Linked DNA regions of Homo sapiens: all the other regions are linked to region 1. The links are contacts of gene promoters, found by promoter capture Hi-C in blood cells and fetal thymus (Javierre and others, 2016). All regions are on one chromosome and are shown on one strand. Each heading gives the region's core, a stretch centred on a gene start or on the middle of the fragment in contact. The rest is flanking DNA. Distances are from core to core; before and after follow the strand shown. Region 1 holds the start of VAV2 (vav guanine nucleotide exchange factor 2). Region 2 overlaps VAV2 (vav guanine nucleotide exchange factor 2). Region 3 overlaps VAV2 (vav guanine nucleotide exchange factor 2).

Evidence for each region. Contacts are between HindIII fragments. The CHiCAGO score rates a contact against its expected background, and 5 or more counts as called.
Region 2: a fragment that was not itself captured here is called in contact with the fragment with the promoter of VAV2 in region 1 in 13 of 17 cell types (total B cells, M1 macrophages, endothelial precursors and 10 more); the score reaches 8.2 in total B cells.
Region 3: a contact is called between a fragment that was not itself captured here and the fragment with the promoter of VAV2 in region 1, in 4 of 17 cell types (total B cells, naive B cells, M2 macrophages and 1 more). The highest score is 7.7, in total B cells.

Annotation. Positions count from the first base shown.
Region 1 is chr9:133,990,067-133,994,100 of GRCh38, reverse strand. VAV2 (vav guanine nucleotide exchange factor 2) reads left to right here and starts at 1,777. Exons shown (of 30, transcript NM_001134398.2): 1 at 1,777-2,026. The coding sequence starts at 1,823. RefSeq lists enhancers at 465-654, 551-1,278, 2,007-2,734, 2,735-3,462, 3,463-4,034 and silencers at 1,065-1,374, 1,475-1,574, 1,635-1,784, 2,055-2,144, 2,185-2,624. The HindIII fragment of the contact is 11,248 bases long and covers 913-4,034 here.
Region 2 is chr9:133,800,155-133,804,443 of GRCh38, reverse strand. All of the region lies in intron 9 of VAV2 (vav guanine nucleotide exchange factor 2), which reads left to right. Among named protein-coding and RNA genes, the nearest start is that of SARDH, 64 kb to the right of the region's middle. RefSeq lists enhancers at 538-1,060, 1,061-1,583, 2,705-3,225. The HindIII fragment of the contact is 4,106 bases long and covers 543-4,289 here.
Region 3 is chr9:133,765,691-133,769,544 of GRCh38, reverse strand. VAV2 (vav guanine nucleotide exchange factor 2) reads left to right here. Exons shown (of 30, transcript NM_001134398.2): 28 at 42-128; 29 at 949-1,103. Among named protein-coding and RNA genes, the nearest start is that of SARDH, 29 kb to the right of the region's middle. The HindIII fragment of the contact is 6,396 bases long and covers 1-3,854 here.

The DNA.
Region 1 (4,034 bases), core at 528-3,027:
CCTTGCCCTAAAGGTGCCCACTGCTGCTTCCTCGGGGAAGGGCAAGAGACCTGAGCCCCCGCCTCACCAGCCACCTGGCCTGAGTTTACTGCTGCAGGGGCCAGCTCCTTCCTGACCTCTCTCTACGGGCCAGACCCTAAGCTGGGACCCCCTGCTTCCACCTCAGTGGAGAAGGGGTGAGTCTGACTCTGCAGAGACCAATTTCCAGGACAGGACCCCCATCGGAGGCCCTGGGCCCAGGGGACCCTCTCTGCGCTCGCATCCCCGTTCCGGCCCCTGCGCAGGGAAGCCACGGGGTAAGGGGTCCGGGGGCTGCAGTGCAGCCCCAGCTCATACAGGCCCAGGATTCCACCGGAGTCCAGGGTGGGAGCCCTCAGACACCGCACCCCAGCCTCCGGGCTGAGCCAGTCTCAGAGAAGGGCTTGGACTTGCCTGGTGTCCCCCAGTGAATCAGCAGTGAAAACCCGCGGTTCCCGGCAGCTGAGCCAGGATCCATATAATTTCAGTTGCAGAATCTGTTTGTCCTTGAAGCCCCTCCTACCGTCACACGTTGCCAGCTGGACAGACCGCGCCCCCACCACCCAGGGTGTGGCCTAGAAGGGAGATCAGGGCGGATCAGCACCGGGGCCGGCTGCGACCCTGGGCCGGAGAGCACCTTCCTGCCCTCACTCATGTCACGCATTCCGCCCTGGACGCCAGGAACTGCCCGCTGGGCAGCTGCGAGTGGCCAGGACTTTGGCCAAAAGCTGGGGAATCCTGGCCTTTATGCAGGGTCGGGGGTCTTCCTATGGGCCCCCGGCCAGGGCGGAGGACAGGAAGAGGGCTCTGGGAGTCCTGGGCCCGTGTGCCTTCAGCCTCAGCCTCGGGTATCCCGCCGGGGCGGCTTGATGGGCCAAGGGGGCTCAGTAAGCTTCGGCCCAGCCCGGTGCCCTCTCCCGAGTCTGTCGTTACCGAACGGCCATGCGAGGGCGCCCAGCGCGACAGGGACCACCTCCTGACCTCCACGGAGGACCAAAGGCACCCGGGGGGACGCCCGGCCATCACTCCACGGGCGAGGTCGCTCCCCCAGGGAGAAGGGCTCCCCAAAGTCCGAGCGCCCTTGGAGAAAGTCGGCCGGACCTGGGCCTGCGCCGCAACCCCCGCCCACCGCAACTTTCGCGGGCGGTAGCGGGGCAGGAAGTGGGGGGGCGGGGGCGGCGCTTGGGACACGGGGAGGTGCCAGGCGAGTGCTCCGGCCCCGCCCCTGCCCCGCCCGGCCGTGGCCGCGCCCCCTGCGCCCCCAGCGCCCCGGAGCCGTGGAGCCGCCGAGCCGCCGAGTCGTCGAGTCGCAGCGCCGGGCGTGGGGACTGCGGGTGGGGCGAACAAAGCGGCGGCGACGCGGGCGGCCCAGGCCCGGGACGCGCGGAGCGAGCGACCCCGCCGGGCCTTTGTCTCGGGCGGGGCAGGAGCCGCGGCGGCCGCGGGGCGCCCCGAGCGCAGAATGCGGCGCCCGGCGGCGCGGATTGGGGAGCGCTGCGGCGACTGGCTGCGTGGAGCCCGGCCCGGGGCCCGCAGGCACTTGCGTGTGTGAAGCGGGGAGATCCGGCGCGCTGCCCGTTGCCCGCCCCGCGGCCGCACGTGGGCGGGAGCGGCGGCCCGAGAGGAGCCCGAGGAGTAGGAGGAGGAAGAGGAGGGGACGCACGGCGGCGCAGCGGGGGACCTGGGGCAGCCCGCGCGAAGCCCCGCCCCGGCCCTGAGCCCCGCGCGCGCGCGGGCGGGATGCCCCGCGGCCGCTGCACTTTGGCTCGAGCACTGCCCTGAGCCGGTCGGGCCCGCGGGCGCCATGGAGCAGTGGCGGCAGTGCGGCCGCTGGCTCATCGATTGCAAGGTCCTGCCGCCCAACCACCGGGTGGTGTGGCCCTCGGCCGTGGTCTTCGACCTGGCGCAGGCGCTGCGCGACGGGGTCCTTCTGTGCCAGCTGCTGCACAACCTCTCCCCCGGCTCCATCGACCTCAAGGACATCAACTTCCGGCCGCAGATGTCCCAGGTGAGCGCCCGGCGGGCGGGAGGGCCCCGGGGAGGCGGCGTTCGCGCTGCCCGACGCGCGGACTGAACGCGGAGGTCGCAGCGGCGGCGGCCCAGGCGCCCTGGCTGGGGCGGCCGGGCTCCGGGACGCGGGCGGGCGGCTGGAGGGTGCGCCCCGGGCCTCCGAGACGCGACCTCAGGAGGCGCGAAGTTGGCCAAAGTCCCCTCAGCCTGGGTCGCGCCGCCGCCGCCCGCGGGCACTGCTCTGGTGCGCCGGTTCCGCGGTCTGCGCGGCCTGGGATGGGGGAGGCTCCGGCGCTGCGCTCGCTCTGCGGGGCCCTGCGAGTGGCCCCTCATTTCCCAGGGAGCCTGCCGAGCCGGGTGTGCGCGTCGTGGGTCGCATCCTTGGGCCTCGCGCCTCCTGGCCGGACGCCGGTGGAAGAGCGGGCGCGGTCGCTGCGCCGGCCCGGGGCGCGGCTGGAGGGCCCGGGAGGGGCGCGGGGCGGGAGCCCTCGGGGCCGGAGGGAGCTGGGTTGGCCCCGGGCACCGCCCCCTCGCCGGCCTCCGCCTCTTCCCGGACCCGGACCCGGGCCACTTGGCGCCAGTCCTGGCTCCCGGGTCGAGCCGCCTCGAGGATCCCCAGGGCCACTTGGCCCCAGTCCTGGCCCCCATCGCTTTCCCAACACCCCCACCCCTCCTTCGGGCGCTGAGTGTGGCCTTTGTCGCGGCGGAGGCACGCGTGCGGCCGCAGGGCCAGGCAGGAAAATGCCTGCCCAGCCGAACGAAGCTGCTTTTCTTGGCCTCTTAAGAGGGAACTTGGCTAAGACTTGAGAGAATCGAGGCTTCCGTCCTGTTCTCCGGGGGTCGCGGAATCCTTACCGGGAGCAGCTTAGAAGAGGTCGGGGGAGGCAGAGCGGGTGGCAGCCGGGTCCACCCAGCGCCGAGGAGGTGCGGTCTTCCAGCCAGCTCAGCAGCCCCTCACCGCGCGCAGTGGCAACTCCATGTGGAGAGGGACCATTCACCAGTGGGACTTAGGACGTGGTTCCTGGGAAGGAGGGAGAGTGAGTCACCAGCGATTCCAGGCTGGGCAGCGAGGCCTCTGCCCTTTGGCGGTGACTGCGTTTCCTAGGAGACCGGGCCTTTCTCTGCCGGGTTGGGGGGCGCTGACAAAGGCAAGCCCAGAGGGGAAGGGGCCGCCTTCCCACTGGGTAATGATTACCCAGCACTGCCTGGACCGGCTTAGCAGGAGCCCTCAGAGGCCTCCCTGGGAGCCAGCGCCTCTTCCCGCAGGATGTCAGTGGTCAGGTGCAGGTGGCGGGGGTGGCGGTCACTGCTGCAGAGGGCTTCCCCGGATCTGTTCTCAGAGCCCCACGGGGACTGGGAAGTCTGGACTCCATTTTATGGCTGGAGAAACTGAGGAGAAGGGTAGCTGTTGGGGAGCAGGGCTGGGCCTCGAACCAAGGTGGCTGCCTTTGATATGAGTTCCAGGGGCTGCCCAGGCTGACTTGCTCGGGCAGGATTCCCTGCTGCTTGCAGGCTGGGGCTCAGGGCAGAGGCAGGGCAGCTGGGTCCGCACAGAGGAGGCTTGGGAGGAGCCCAGCCTTGCCTGGTGGACTCGCTGGGTCCGGGGGCTGCCCCTCCCCAGCTGTGGTTTGGGAAGATGGGAAGAGGAGGGGGCCGTGGCTGTGGCAGGTGGCTTGGCTCAGCTCCTGCACTGGAAGTTCAAGCCAGAGACTTCCTGGGGTCTCTGGAGCCATTGGCCAGGCAGCAATACGAACCCTGACAGAGGCCCCTTGAGCCCTGCTGCTGGGGGGTGGACGGGTGTCTAGGGGTCCCGCTGCTGGGCCGGTAGAGGGGTGTTTAGGGGCCCTGCTGCCGGACTCGTGGAGGGCGTGTAGGGGCCTGGATGGTAGGAGGACCAGATGGGTGTGTGTCTGTGTGGCTCTCCGCTCTGATTGAATCCTGGCACTGTCCCCTCCCAGGTAGGCAACGACCTCCAGAGCCTCAGTTTCCCCATCTCTGTCATGAGA
Region 2 (4,289 bases), core at 1,346-3,845, 190 kb after region 1:
TTCCCGCTGAGGAACAGCGGGCATCTCTGCCTTGGAGCGCCACTGCAGTGCGGGCAGCACGTCCAGTCACAGGCCCAGCCCAAGAGCTCTGTGGACGGGCAGCTCCGTCCCTGGCAGCGAGGCGTGTGGCGAGATCCGTCAGTCGGGGTCTGTTTGGGGAAGGGGCTGTCAGCGTTTCATCAGAGCTCATCACCAAATCATCGTGGTTCTGTCCCAGCATCCAGCTTTTTTGCCCCTTTCCTCTCATTTCGGATTCGGCCCCAAGGTCCTGGTTCTTGCTTGCTGGCTGAGTCCTGAAGCTTTTATAGGGTGCCTGCTCTGTATGGCTCCTGAGCTCTGGACTGAGGACACGCAGTGAACAGAGCTACTGGCCTCTCGCTGGGTGGGATGGATGAGAACCAAGACAAGATAGAGAAGCTCCGGGGGGAGCTGCGGCGTTGCTGGAGAGCCCAGGAGACCCGTGAGGGCTGCACAGCGGAGGACGTGTCCCCCTGAGCACAGTCCTGCAGGGGTGGGGCGAGGCGGGTTGGGGAGCAGAAGCTTAGGGGAAGGTGAGAGGCATGAGCCCAGTAGAAAAGGGGCGGTTCTCCAGGGAAGGGCTGGAGGGTCCTGCAGGGGCTTCCAGGCCAAAGGAAGGATTTAGAATTTTTCTTTTATTAAGCGAGGGCACGAGGAAGCTGCTGAAGGGCTTTGTGACAGGGTCCTGGCAGCTCGTCGGGGGTGAAGGGTGGAGTAGCATTCCGGTGTGGCATGATCGGCACTGAGTGGCAGGAGACAGTCACCTCCCTCTTTTTGAGGTTATACTTTCATGAATGCAGCCTTCGTCCTCAGACAAGGCAGGAGCTCCTCTTAGCCTTGCCCTGTGGGCCTAAAAGGGGGCATCTCCCACCCAGAGGGACACTGGGCCTTGGGAAGGAGCTTGCATTCTGCAGCTGTGGACATAAGACAAAGCCGTGTGGTTTTTCTCTGTGGCTGGGTCTGGCCAGGCTGGGCCTGGAGTCCAGCTCCTGGTGGCTTCCTTGAGTGGGGCAGTGAGTCATGCTGCGGGGAGTGGGGGCATACGGGGACGTGGGGGCAGGAGAGCTAGAAAGGGAACGACCTCGGGGAGCTGGCAGCCCTGCAGGAAGGCCACGAACTGGCTTTCAAGAGGAGCTCTCTGTGGAGCTTTGCACGAGCGCTTTTGGGAGGAATGCAGAACAGAACGAGACGAAGGCCACGCCCTCCTCCCCCAGGGCTGGGTGGGATCTCCCTGCGTATGTGGAGATGAAGGATCCGAGACAGGTGAGCGCTTTGGTGCACCGAGACTTCCACTCGGAATCCTGGAACGAGTGAGGCTGCCCTGTGGATGGTTCCTACCCGAAGCCCAAGGCTGGGTGGTTCCAGGGTACGGCCTGCAGGGAGAGTCCCCGGTCATGGTCCACCTCAAAAACCCCAGTAGGGGTTGGCTTGGCCACCTGCTCTGGCAGGGCTGCCTTTGGGAACCTCTGAAGTCAAGAAGCCTCAGCTCCCGCTCTGTCTAACCCCCATTTCCCAGATGGGGAAACGGAGGCCAGAGCTGGCAGCTCAGCCGTGCACCTTGCTTGTTCCTGCATCCTTGGTCCATACCTGAGCCCATGGCCTGTGGTCCTCAATCCACGCTGGCCTGTCCCTGGGCATCTTGAGAGGTTGGGGCTGTGTGGACTGGAGGCAGAGGTGATACCATGAGGAAAATGGGCAGAGGAGAGGCATCTCTGGAGGAGGCATTTGTGCACCGTGTGGTGGGTTCAGAATTTGACGTACTCAGAAAGTTAAAAAACATGATCCTCACACAAATACCCACGGAGCTCGGGCCACGGGTCTGTCAACTCACGAGCAAGGGAACCACATACCTTGTCAGCAGAGAGGGGAGGTCGGGCAGGATGCTGGACACGGCGGGCCGTGCCTTGCAAGGTGACCACACTGAGACCTTTGGGGCCATGTCCTCTATCAGGACAGAAATCATTTGCGCCTGAACAACTTTCTCCAGGGGAGGAGTCAGCCGGAGTGGGGCGGGGGAGGGGGAGGCTGCCCCTGGGAGGTGCTCCAACCAGACCAGGAATGCATGAAGTCGTGTGTGTGTGTGTGTGTGTGTGTGTGTGTGTACACGCGTGCTTGTGTGTTTGTGTGCACATGCATGTGTGTGTGTGTGCATACATGTGTGCCCGTGTGTGTTATTCCAAGTTTTGGCTCCTTTTTCTTAACAGTAGTAAATGTGGTTAGAATTAAGGCCTGTAAACTTTTGCCTCCTTAACTGACTTCCTCCAATAGGCTTGGAGTCACTGTCATTTTCTCTCCATTTTTCGGGGAAAAGTCAAACTGTGCCCCCTGGGGACTCTGTGGCCCATGCTGCCTGGTATGTGGCAGGTGCTCAGAGTCCTGTGGTGTGGACGGAGGGTGAAGGCGTCTGTGTGAGTGACCTGGCTTGGCTGTAACAATGACCGCAAACATGGTGGCTTGAAACAACAGAGATGTCTCTGTTCTGGAGGCCAGACTCCTAGTCTCACTGAGCCAAAGTCCAGGTGTGCCCGGGTCATGCTTCCTGCAGAGGCTTCAGGGGGATCCTTCCTACGTCCTGCAGCTGCTGGAGGCCCCGGGTGTTCCTGGCTGGGGCTGCTTCGTTCTCTGTCCCCATCTCCACATGGCCTCCCCGCGTCTCTGTGTCCTTTTCTGAGGCCACTCTCATTGGAGTCAGGGCCACCTTCCTTCAGCATGGCCTCATCTCAGTCCTTACCTTCATTACATCTGCATCATGACCAAATAAGGTCACAGTGTGAGGCTCTAGTGGACCCACTGCAGCCGAGTTCTGGTCCGAGGCCCTCTCCATCACCAGCTGCCCTTGCTCAGTGGGGCTAGGGGTGTGCAGGTGCTGGCATCTGCTCTGCCCCTGGGTCAGGTGAGAGAGGGCGCGGGCCCCTCGAGTGTCCTTCTGGACTCCACGGAGAGAGAGTGTCCCTCTGCAGAGGCGTCACCCTGGGGCCCTGAGGGCCAGGGTTGAGAGCCATGTGCATTCGCTTTGGAATCTGGCCCTGTTCCCCTTCTTGGGCGACCTCAGAAGTCACGTCACGTCTCTGAGCCTCAGGGCCCCTGTGGTGACAGTGGTGTTTCTGTGAGGATGCAGTGAGCCCGGGTGTGAAGCCCGTCCCACGGCCAGGGCCCTTTCAGGCTCTTCATGGAGGTCTGTCTTTCCCCAGAGTTCTCCTGTTTGCTTCAAGTGCCTGCCATTCCCCCCACCCCCAACCTCCTGCATCCTCTTATCAAATGGATAGAAGGACCTGTGTCCAGGCTTGTGGCTGTGGCCACTCACAGCCGTGTGTGAGTGCCTGGTGCAGGCAGGCTCCGGGCTGGGTGCTGGGGTATGGGGATGAGTGAGACCCATTGCAGGAGCTCAGAGCTGGTGGGTGGGGGTCACCCGGGGCAGTCTCCTCTTTGGGCTCCCACTGACCTTGGACAGGCCTCTACCTGCTGCCCTTTGACCTATCTCCTTGCTTTTCCCTCTGGCCCTGCTGGTGCAGGGGTTGAAGTGAAGAAGGGGCAATGATAGGGAAGAGTTTTGACAGACGAGTAGAAGTTTGCCAGGTGGAGAAGGCTGCCAGCTCAGCTGTGCTGTGGCTGATGTGGGTGTTCCCGGTAGAGCATGGTGTGAGGAGAGTAAGGCTGGGATCTGCACTCCAGCCCCTCGTCCACCTAAACCTCGGGCCAAGGTGACTTGGTGTGAAATTGAAAGGCGGAGCTCACAAAGCTGGTTTGGCCACACTAGAGCTGCTGGCACCAGGCATGTTATCCGCTGGGCTTCAGTTGGGAGCTTTTTCCACCTACATGAAGACTTGCCTCGACAGGGAGGGACTGGGGCCATCACTGGGCCCAGCTCACCTGAAATGCTTGAAGCCGAGTCCGCAGTGGTGCGGGGCCTGGTGGGAAGTCAGGCAGTGTGGTGTCCCTCGGGCCCGAGCGTGGCCCCAGCCCCAGCAGCAGCAGACATGGCTCCATGCGGGCAGGACCCCTCGCTGGGGACTCTGTCTTTCCTTCTCCCCAGCCCAGACTCGTCCTCCCGCCTCCAGGCGGTCTTGGGAAGCTCTGAAAGCCTTGAGGTTCACCACCTGCCCTGGCTTCCCCACCTAGAGTCCTCAGGCCAGGTCAGGGGCACTTTTCAAAGGGGCCACAGGGGTGGGCTGGGGGCCTTAGGGTTTGGGGTGCCCCTGGACCTCCTGCCTTGCTTCTGGTCTGGTGTCATCATCAGATAGGAGGCACAGCCAGGAGGCAGAGCAGTGCAG
Region 3 (3,854 bases), core at 686-3,185, 220 kb after region 1:
GCCCTGCTGCCCGCCTCACGTTCTCTCTCGCCTCTTTGCAGCTTCCTGTGCTTCCTACAACTTTTCTTTTCTCAGTCCTCAGGGCCTCAGCTTTGCTTCTCAGGGCCCCTCCGCTCCCTTCTGGTCAGGTACCGCTGCTCCCCAGGGCGTGGGGGGACCGGGCCTGTGGCAGCTGCCTTGGGAGACCCAGCACGGAGCTGCCCACTGGCCCCACAGCCCTGCCTGACGTGGCCACAGTTGTCCGCAGTCTGGCACTGGGTGGAGGGGAGAAAGGGGCTGGGGAGGCCGGGCAGAGGCTGCTGCGAGCACCTGAGGACACGTCAGGCTTGGCCCTGCCATTGTCACCACCCACCCCCTGTGGACACGCCCACCCTGATGGCCACTTTCCCAGCCCCGTCCACTGTCATTCCTCCTTGTTCATCAAGAGCTTTGCCTCTGGTAGCAGAAAGCAGGTGGCCACGAGGAGGAGCTGTGGGACTTGGGTGCAGGGAGGAGGGGTTTTCAGTCAGCCTTGACCTCATGGCTTTCGGCTGCCAGAGTCAAAGTCCCTTCCCAGCAGCTGTGTGTGTTTCGCCCTCAGCCATGGTCATTGTCACCTGTCTATCAGGATTCTGCATCTGGGCCAAGCTGGTTCCACTGGGTTTCTGGTTGGATTTGGGGGACCACTGGAATGATGATGGTCAAAGCCTGGGCACCTGCTCTTGTCCCTAAGAACATCCTCATTGCAGGGACTTGGATGTGCTGTGTCCCCAGACCCAGAGGGCAAGGGGCCCTGGGATTGGAGGCCAGTGTGTCCCTCCAGAGCCTTTCTGCTTGACATCCTTCCTCTCTGGGTACAGAGCAGGGTTCTGGGCACCAGGGGAGAGACCCAGCTTGGCCCAAGGGCCTCCTGGATCACTGGTTGGGCTCCTCCTGCAGCTGTGTGATGCTGCCCATCTCCCTCAACAGTGTTCACGCCCCGCGTCATCGGCACAGCTGTGGCCAGGTATAACTTTGCCGCCCGAGATATGAGGGAGCTTTCGCTGCGGGAGGGTGACGTGGTGAGGATCTACAGCCGCATCGGCGGAGACCAGGGCTGGTGGAAGGGCGAGACCAACGGACGGGTGAGTGGCCCCACCCTGAGGGTGTGGGGCTGGCCTCGCTGCAGCCCCTACCTGGTCGGGCTCAGGCAGACTAGCACCACACCTATGTCCACACCCCAGGCCCTGTTCCAGACACCCTCTGCAATCTCCCTCATCCTCACAGCAGCCCAGAAGGTTGGCATTCACAGGGGGAAACCGAGGCTCCAGATGTTTACCACGAACCCAAGGTCACACAGCCAGAAATCGGCTACAGAGGTCTGATGCGGATCCAGGCTCCTAGGAACCCCCCGACCCTGTTCCATTTTTATTCTGGGCTGCCCTCATAGCTGCACTCGCCAAATTACTTGCAAGTCCCCAAGCTCTGTTTGCGGGAAGGGAGGTCACAGGACTGAGGAGGACACGGTGTCCTTGCTGGGCTCCTCCTGCCATTTTCTAAGGCCCTATCTATGCCCTGGTGAGGCAGTAGGGACACAGTGTGTCCCCAATCCCTTCACACTTTCCCAAGTGCCAGGTGGGCCTAAGAGTGCCCTGGCCACCCTAAGATTCTGCATATGTCTGTGGCCTCTTCATCCCAACACCCCATCTGGACCTCTAGCTTTGACCCATGTCTCTCAGTACCTATCCATCCAAGCACCAGAGCTCCCTGTGCCACCAATTAGAAAATGCCCAGCTTTCTCTGTGAGCTGCAAGCTGCACAGGGCAGGTGGATGGGGCTTCAGAGGGCCAGTTAACCTTGGCTCCCAGTGCTGACCCTTCCATTGTCCAGTGGCCGGAGCAGCTCTGCCTTCACCTATCAGTCTGCCCCTTGGAGGCCCTCAAGTCTGACCCATTTTTTACCCAACTGCCCTATAGAAGTGTCAAGGCTACTGAGGCTTAGGTAGCCCACCTAGGGGGCTGGGACCACTGGTTCTCAAAGTGGTCCTTGTGTGATTGGCATTAAAAGTGCCTGAAGCTGTAATTTAATAAGCACATACCTGGGCTCTTTCCCAGATCCAGGTATTTTCTATACAGCATTAAGTTTTAGAACAACTAGTTTGAGTATTACTGGATAATTCCTGTCAATTTGACCCTGTTACCATTATGAAACGTCTTTTCTTTTCTCTGGCATTTATTCTTGCTGTAGTCTCCTTGATCTGCTTTTGTGACACCAGCTTTCTTGGGATTACTGCTTTGTGTGGCATATTATTTTCTCTCATACTACTTAAACTTTTCTATTTCCTTATATTTAAAATGGATTTCTTATAAATAGTTGGGGAAGCCAGTCTGGTCTGACAGTCTTTGGCTTTTAATAGGCATATATAGCCCATTTACATTTAATGTAATTACTGAGCTGTTTGGGTTTAAATTATCTAACTTTATTTTCTAGTTGTCACATCTACTCCTTTTTTCTTCTTTCCTGCCTACTTTTGAATTAATCAATATATTTTTAATTCTACTTCCCCTGCCCTACATTGGTTTGTTAGTTACACACTTTTTTTCTTAAGTGGTAACCTTAGACTAGAGGTTACCTTAAATGAGTACTTTTTTACTATTTCCCAGACAATGCAAGGAAGGACCTTGCGACTTTTGATTGCATCCATTTTCCTCCCAACTTTTGTGCAAGCGTTCTCATGTATCTTAATTCTATATATATTCAAACCTTAGAAGACATTGTTTTTGTTTTTTTGTTTTTGGGATATATATATATATATATATATATATATTTATTTATACTTTAAGTTCTAGGGTACATGTGCACAATGTGCAGGTTTGTTACATATGTATACATGTGCCATGTTGGTGTGCTGCACCCATTAACTAACCTAATTTACATTAGGTATGTCTCCTAATGCTATCCCTCCCCCTCCCCCTCCAGTGTGATGTTCCCCTTCCTGTGTCCAAGTGTTCTCATTGTTCAGTTCCCACCTATGAGAGAGAACATGCGGTGTTTGGTTTTTTGTCCTTGTGATAGTTTGCTGAGAATGATGGTTTCCAGCTTCATCCATGTCCCTACAAAGGACATGAACTCATCATTTTTTATGGCTGCATAGTATTCCGTGGTGTATATGTGCCACATTTTCTTAATCCATTCTATCATTGTTGGACATTTGGGTTCGTTCCAAGTCTTTGCTGTTGTGAGTAGTGCTGCAATAAACATACATTGGAGAGGATGTGGAGAAAGAGGAACACTTTTACACTGTTGATGGGACTGTAAACTAGTTCAACCATTGTGGAAGACAGTGTGGGAATTCCTCAGGGATCTAGAACTAGAAATACCATTTGACATTGTTTTTGTTTTAGGCTGTTGTGCTTATTTAGATTTACCCCGTGTTTACCTTTCCCAGGGCTCCCCATTTCCTCCTGCATTATTGTATTTCCACCCAACACCATTTCCTGCTGCCTGACATCCCTTCTCTTTCATATTTTTTAAAGCATATCTGCTATTAATGAATTCTCAGTTTCTTTTGAATCTAAAACCATCCTTATTTCACTTTCTTTTTAAATATTCACATTGTAAAATGTTTGTAACATAATTTTGAAACAAAATTTCAAACGTACAATTTCAAAATTTCAACTTAAAAGTGTCAGTAACCTGCCCAGATTTACCAATTGTGAATGTTTTGCCCCATTTGCTTTATCATTTGCACTGTGTGTGTGTGTGTTTGTCTATTTCTCTCTAACTCACTTGAGAGTAAATTGCAGAAATCATATTTCTTTACCCCTAAGTATTTCCTAAGACCAAGGACATTCCCCTTTGATATAATACAATTATCTAATCCACTGTCCATATTC